2 separate regions of the Homo sapiens genome follow, and region 2 is linked to region 1. The links are contacts of gene promoters, found by promoter capture Hi-C in blood cells and fetal thymus (Javierre and others, 2016). All regions are on one chromosome and are shown on one strand. Each heading gives the region's core, a stretch centred on a gene start or on the middle of the fragment in contact. The rest is flanking DNA. Distances are from core to core; before and after follow the strand shown.

Evidence for each region. Contacts are between HindIII fragments. The CHiCAGO score rates a contact against its expected background, and 5 or more counts as called.
Region 2: a contact is called between a fragment that was not itself captured here and the fragment with the promoter of CYB5R4 in region 1, in 1 of 17 cell types (naive CD8 T cells). The highest score is 6.7, in naive CD8 T cells.

The regions. Positions count from the first base shown.
Region 1 is chr6:83,857,905-83,861,776 of GRCh38, forward strand. It overlaps CYB5R4 (cytochrome b5 reductase 4), which reads left to right and starts at 1,785. Exons shown (of 16, transcript NM_016230.4): 1 at 1,785-1,953. The coding sequence starts at 1,879. The region is part of intron 3 of RIPPLY2-CYB5R4 (RIPPLY2-CYB5R4 readthrough); the gene reads left to right. RefSeq lists a silencer at 1,856-1,905. The HindIII fragment of the contact is 3,476 bases long and covers 1-2,990 here.
Region 2 is chr6:85,317,807-85,321,678 of GRCh38, forward strand. No RefSeq gene overlaps it. Among named protein-coding and RNA genes, the nearest start is that of LINC02535, 85 kb to the right of the region's middle. The HindIII fragment of the contact is 637 bases long and covers 1,880-2,516 here.

The DNA.
Region 1 (3,872 bases), core at 535-3,034:
TAGGGCTTTTAAATTATAGATATTTTAAATAAATGATGAGCAAAGTAACTCATATTTTAATACTCCTCTTCAGTCCTTAAATCCAGTAGTAAAATAGTATGGATGTTTAATACTTAATGTACTACATTGAGGGATCCCTAGAATTAAAACAAAACGTTTAAATTTGAGTGATTGATATGGAGTCTAAAAAAGTGGAGTCTAAAGGCCAGAAGTTGATAGCATCTTCCATTTCTGTACAAAGGGGAGCTAAGAAATTTGGAAAGCATGGAACATTCTTCAACAATATTAACTTTTCCTTGCTCTGGTTCTCTGCTTTTGATATTCTTATGTAAAAGTTTTCTCACGAGAAGTGAAATAAATCTCAGTGATTAGTTTTTCTTGTGTAGACTCTAGAAGAATATGTCATCATTTAATGAGAGAGAACACAGAAGCAATTTGCAAAGTCAAAGTAATACAGTTAATTATAGTCATGAGGTTCTTTTAGCTCAAATTCAGTCTTCTCATAATAAGCATTTCAATTGCAAATAAAAATGGATAGAGGTGAATGTCATAGGTGGCTACCTTATTTGAATGCTTGTATTTGAATGGCCACATATAGTCACACACTTTTTCTTCTGATTCTGCAAACATAACCTTGATTTTTTAGGCACTTTAAGAACTAAGTAGTTAAACAGAGAAAGTTTAAAGCATGACAATATGTTCAGAGTTAGGAAAAATTAGTAATTAAAGGAGGATGGGGAGGATTATTTAGAACTATGTTTCTTCTCCTGAAAACTTTCTCCCTTATTGGATTCTACTCTCAAGATCTATGTGTTCCCCAAGGGACACACAAAACAATCAATCAAACAAACAAAAACCATCAGATTTTGAGCATTAGAGCCTGGTGTTTACCTGCACAGTGTTGGTCCTTTTCCCATTAATATGTTGGAATAGCACAAACAGCCACTGCCACTTATTCAGTACCTAATATTAATCAGGCACTGCAGTATGTAGTTTACACATGATCCTTTAATCTTTAATAAACCCATTATGCAGATGGGGAAAATGAGACTTTGAGATACTAAAGTAACTTGCATAAGACAGCTCAGTCATTAAGTGCAGGGATGGCATGCAAACCAAATCTGACTTTTAAACGTTACTTCATCACCACAGCTGGAGGTGAGCTGCATCAGTACACAATTCCCAGTGAAGACAGGAAGTTACATAAGGAGGGAGAATTTGTGAGTGGGTGAATAGAGCAGAAGGTGACTTTACTAACGTCTTTCGCGCATTCATTAGCCCTCAGCATGCTTAAAGGTGAAGTTTAAGGATGATTAAAGGTGAGGTTTTCTTCTTACCCCACAGTAGTGGCTGTTGACATTTGATATTTTTGCTCTTAAAGGTGTGAGATGCTCTTTGCATTACAGCCTAGTGCCTTACAGGAAAGAATTTCAGAGAAACTAAAATTCGTTTTAGTCCATATTTCAAGTAGTGTGTTTTAGTCCATATTTCAAGTAGTGTGATGGTACTGCTTAACAATGAACAGACATTGCTGTTCCGGGTTAACAGGACTAAGAATTTGTTCCCACATTCGGTCAGCACCAAGGCTAAGGAACAGCTTCACTCTCTAATCTTTCCACGAAATAGCTGTCACCTTGCTCCGGTGCTGAAGTTCGGGATGCGGAACTAGCTGAGCATGCGTACTTCCTCCCTGCCGGCCCTCCCTCCGTCCCGTTGGCTCCGCCCTCCGCGGACGTGCTGCGTCAGAATGCGCCTCACCCCTGGCGACCCCGGAAGTGGGTCGGGGGCTTGGCCTCTGCCCGGCCACAGAGCCGGAGCTGGAGGTGCTGTCCCGTCTGGCGGCGATCCCCGGGCAGGGCCCGGGGCCGGGGTTTGAAGATGCTGAACGTCCCTTCCCAGTCTTTCCCGGCCCCCAGGTCGCAGCAGCGTGTCGCCTCCGGGGGGCGTAGCAAGGTAAGCGGGTGGCTCCGTGAGTCTCTCCCCTCGCTGCGTTTCGAGCTCTGGCAGTGTGTTCTCTTCTTCCGCCCCAACTCCCAGCTCCTGCACCCCTCTCTAAGCTGTCGTTCCCTGCTGTCCTTGCCTGCAACCTCTTTCTGATCCCACTTTGTCTACAGTCCCTAAACTCTCCTTACCTCCTCCCTTTCCCCTAGCAGTCCCTCTTCTTTCTGGTCCTTTATCCCGCTCTATCCGTTCCCTTCCTCCAAGTCCTTTCCCGCGATTTAAATTTATATGACAGAGCCAGGCACTGTGTTTGCGGTATTATAGGCTCTCGGTATTAGCCGCCTTCCCTCAACCTCATCTTCTCCCTGGTCTTTTGTTCTTCACTGCCTGAAGGAGTTGTACCACATCACTCGATGTGGGTTCCCTCGCAGGAGGGAAAGGCTTGGCAGTGGCGACAGTGACCGTCCGTGCAAGGATGGGGACTTCTGGAGTTGGGGAGCTAGGTCAGGTTTACAGACACTATCCAAGACATACTGCCTTTCTTTCTTCCTCTGGTACCTGATTGTTTTGTCATTGCCTTTTCTACTAGTATCACTTGCTAACTTCGAAGCAAATATAATAATACTCTTGAGTTCTTGTTGAGCACAGTTGCTGTTAGCAACAGGTGGAATACTGTACAGATATATTTTATATTTGCAGAATTCAATAAAAATTGTGTTCTTTGTTCTTTTGCGAATGTTGTTTGTTCCTATTTGTTAGTTCCTCATTCTGTAACCATATCTTTATCTTTCGTTTGTGACACTTCCACTTAACTTGGGCCACTCGGTTAACTCTTGAGTCTTAGCATCGTTTGGAACCCTTATCGATTTTCTTATTTTTCTCCACTTAGACCTGGCGTTCTGATTCTAGTTCAGAATGAATATAGGTTCAGGGATCTGTGGTTTTCATTAGCTTTCCAGAGATTTCTTAAGTACTTACGGGTGGCCGTGTATATTCTCAGTGCTTTGCATGTATTAACTTTAATTTTCACAATTATCCTTTGAAGTGAAAGCTTTTATTGTCTCTATTTCGCAGAAAAGGAAACTGGCTAAGAAATATTGCCCTAAATTGCGTAGGCTTGTGTTGTGGTTCTGCTGTGAAATTTCATTTACTGATTCATATATCAATCATCTAGCCATCCAATCATGTATATTTTTCTCATTGGTTTTTGACCTATTTCTTGAAGCTAAATACTTGACTGAATAACAGTCTTTCCAGAAAGAATCTCTGAATTAGAATATGAGTTACTGCCCTTCTTCGTTAAAAATACCAACTGTGTTCTTAGCATCCATTTAAAGGAGAAAACTTAGAAGCAAAGACAAAAAGTCACACAGGGGGCGATGGCAAAGGTGAGTTTTTGGTCCAAAAAGAGAACAAAATAAGATTATTGTGCAATTCTAAGGAAAAGTCAGACTCCAGTCTTCTTCCTCTTTTCTTTGTGAAACAAGATGATGCTGAGAATGTAAAAACTGAGTCAGGTTTGGATGAAATGGGTAGAGGTTGAGAAAATAGAACCAAGTTGGGAAGGTCGTGTATTATACAAAAGGTTCTCAAATAGTGTTGTTTCATTCAACAGCATTTAGTTATAATATTGATGAGAAAAAAAATTCGTTTTGGCCAGGGCCACTGTCTTTGGAGTTTGCATGCTCTGTGTCTGCGTGGGTTTTCTCTGGGTACTCTGGTTTCCTGCTACAGCCCAAAGATATGCAAGTTAGGTTAATTGGTGTGTCTAAATGGTCCCAGTCTGTGTGAATATTGGGTGTGTATGAGTGTGCCTTGCCATAGGATGGCATCCTGTCCAAGGTCGGTTCCTGCCTTGTGCCCTGAGCTACTGGGATAGGCTCTGACTACCTGTGACATTGAACTGGAATAGTTGGGTAAATAATTATCTT
Region 2 (3,872 bases), core at 948-3,447, 1.5 Mb after region 1:
GCAACAGAGAAAGGAAACACTTTTTTCAAGAGAGGAATTAAGGCAGGTTGTGGGGCAACAACTTGCTAGAGAAATATGCATAACTAAAAGGGAGCCAAGCACTAATAGCCAAGACCATGGAGAAAATGTCTCAAAAGCATTTGAGAAACCTTCCCAGCAGCCCCTCGTATCATAAACCCAGAGGCCTAGGAGAGAAGAATGGTTTTGTGGGCCAGGCCCAGGGCCCCTACTACCTTATACAGCCTCAGGACACTGCTTCCCACATCTCAGCTGCTCCAGCTCCAACTGTGGCTTAAAGGACCCCGAATATAGCTTAGGCCACAGCTCCAGAGGGTGTAAGCCATAAGCCTTGGTGGCTTCCATGTTGTGTTAAGCCTGAAGCCACATAGAACGCAAGCACAAAGGCCTGGCACCCTCTACCTAGATTTCAGAGAATGTATAAAAAAGCCCGTTTGTCCAGGCAGAAGCTTTCTGCAGGGGTGAAGCCCTCACAGAGAACCTCTATATGGAAGTGCAGGGGGGCAGGAAATGTAGGATTGAGGGCCCCACACAAAGTCCCCACTGGAGCACTGACTAGTAGAGCTGTTAGAAGGGGGCCACCCTCCACCAGACCCCAGAATGGTACATCCACCAGTGGCTTGTGCCCTGTGCCTGAAAAAGCCAGAGGCACACAATTCTAATTTGTGATAGCAGCCCTGGGGGCTGAACCTTGCAAAGTCACAGCAGTGAAGCTGCCCAATACCTTGGAACCCTTGCCTTGCACCAATGTGCCCTGGATGTGAGACATGAAGTCAAAGGAGACTATTTTGAAGCTTTAAGATTTAATGACTGCCCTGCTGGGTTTTGAACTTGCATCAGGCCTCTAGCCCCTTTCTTTTGGAAAGTTTCTCCCTTTTGGAATGAAAATGTTTACCCAATGCCTACACCCTCATTGTATCTTAGAAGTAAATAACTTGTTTTGATTTTATGGCTTCAAAGGTGGAAGTAACTCATCTCCAGATAAAAATTAGGACTTTGGACTTTTGAATTAATGCTGGAATTAGTTAAGACTTTGGGAAACTGTTGGGAAGGAATTATTGTATTTTGCAATATGAGAAGGATATGAAATTTGGGGGACAAGAGGGGACCAGACAAGAGGTATTTAGATCATGGGGATGTATGTCTTCATGTATGTCTTGGGCCCCATGGTGATAAGTGAGCTTTCACTCAGTTCACACACGATCTGTTGGTTTAAAAGTATATGTTACCTCCCCCTGGCCAGCCATTCTTTCTCCCTTGCTCCTGCTTTCACCATGTGAAGTGCTGCTTCCACTTTGTCTTTTGCCATGATTTCAAACTTCATGAGGCTTCCTTAGAAACCAAGCAGATGCCAGCACCATGCTTCCTGTATAGCCTGCAAAACTGTGAGCCAATTAAATCTCTTTTCTTATAAATTACCCAGTCTCAGGTATCTATTTATAGCGGTGCAAGAATGGCCTAATACAAAAGATAGGCCATTACATTCTCTGTACTGTGCATATTCATTCATATGATGTAGATAAATCAGGGATACAGTCCCCAAGACACAAAATCATGATAGCTCATATGCAATGTTTTACAAGGTGACTATGATTTACACCACCTAGCAGCACCAAGTAAATGAAGAAATGCCGACCCCTTGAATGCAATGACCATGGGAGAAACACAAACACACCTCCTCATCTTTTCTCCCTTACCCCACTTGACCTGCAGGCTTTGCCCTATGAGTGTGTATACAGTGCTGTCCTCTCAAACTTTCTTGCTAAAAATATTTACTCCAACATCCCAAACAGGAATAAGCATCCTGAGCAGATGAATCCAAGTAGCAAATGAGAAGGGAATGCCTTAAGTCTTGAGAAGAAGCTTAAAACAACAAAACATTTTTTGGAACACTGAAACATTTACAAATACACAAGAGAACTTGTGATAGCACAAGAACAAGAGATCTAACAGAATCCATATTGTGTGCCATCAGTGACAATACATCTCAAATAAAAGAAAGCTATTCAGCAGGAACAACTATGAGAGCTGCAACATCTCTTGATTAAGCCTGAGGAAGGTATAAATAATGTTGATGATGATGTAGACCATGATAACAAAAGTCCAGTAACTGTCACCAGAGGGAAATATGCCACTATAATTGGGCTGATGTGCACCCACAGGTATTGAAAACAATTACCCCACTGAGCAAAGCACCCACTGCCTAGCAGTCTCCCATATCACTTGAGGCCATATATGCAGCTTCTTAAAGAAAGGAGAAAATGGCCTAACAACAACTTCTGCATTTCTATTTTAAATTAATGTAAAAGGTAAACAGGACAAACCATAGCACCTTTAGTGCAATAGCATTTTGTCCTACTATTTTCCTCCTTCTCCATAACTCAGAAGCCCCCACTGTGCACTTACGACTCACCAAGCAAACCTTGTGCTTTCTGTAAGGTGAAGCACTTATGTACCATGGTATTTTTTAAATTTTATAAGGGACTTGAGATTTTTAAAGCTTTTATTAGGGTTTTAGAAGAGTATTCCTTACTAGACTATACAGGTGTTGTGTTTCACCCAATTAAATTTTTCCCAGAAGGCTCATCATTTTTATTGCATGAAATTCTACATTACATTTATTTTTTAGAAAGATGTATATGGCACTGTAGGAGAAACAACTATATTATCTCATTTAATCCTCATCTTACCCCACTTTACAAGAGAAAACATTGGGTATGGTTTTCATTGAACATCAAAATCTCATATCTTGTACATATTCTCCCAAACTGTGTTCCCCGTCTTTCTTCTAATGTAATGTTAGCTGAGTTTCTCCACCATTCAAAAGCCTTTTCCTAGAACATCGTGATGAGAGAAATCACAAAGCGGTAGCTCCCAGCCCTGCTAAAAGGAGGAAACGTGCTTGGCATCCAAATGGAAACTGGTTTCTAGTACTTAGGTCAAAAGTTCATGTACACACACACACACACACACACACACACACACAGAGCGTTCTCAAGAGAAGTTCTTAAGGCCAAAAGAAAAAACAGAGAGACTACCAACACATAGATCCTAGAGTGAAAAAATCCAACTGGCAATCTGAACTAATGTAGGCAGTTTCCCCAAAGCGACTGATAACTATTGAGTTACTTTCCCCAGGGTCAGCTGCAGAGAAGGAATTAGAAAGACCAAGTTGGGGCCCTTCTCTACTCCTTTTAAATACCGCGTTTCTGTTGCTTGGAACTTTCATATTTCTGCATCAGACTGTTCTCCTTGCTATATTTCACACTCCCTCTGGCTTCACATCAGAAGAACAAGGTCAGTATTTGTTTGTAATGGAATAGGGGTGTGATGGTGAATAATACAGATGTATATTTTACTTGGAACAAATGCAGTTCACCTTTCTTCTCTGAGTAAACTGAGATCTTGAGAGAGGCTGCACTGCATAAGCCTTCAAAAGGAGGCCCTCCTTGGGTATTCCAAACATTTTATCAAGCCACAAGATCCTCTTGTTTCAAGCAAGAAGCACCTACAAAGAAAAAGACAGTTTCTGTAAGACACTTGGATTTTGGGTTTGTTAGTTCTTTTGGGGTGAATTTTTAATGTTAACAGAAAAACCAAACTACCTTGGTGGAATTGGGTGCCAGGAGGCATTAAATAAATGGATTCAAGTAAGTACATTTGCAATACCCTAGAATGGTACATTCTCTCAGGTCCTTTGCTTTGGGTTTTTCAGAGAGATTCAGAATACGTTTCTACGTTTATTTAAAGTAGAATGTTAAGGCCAAGATGAAGAGAATCAATTCTAATCAGCTTTTGAAGTAGAAACAGGACAGGATCAATCTTGCAGCACTCAACAGACTATCTCCCATTTG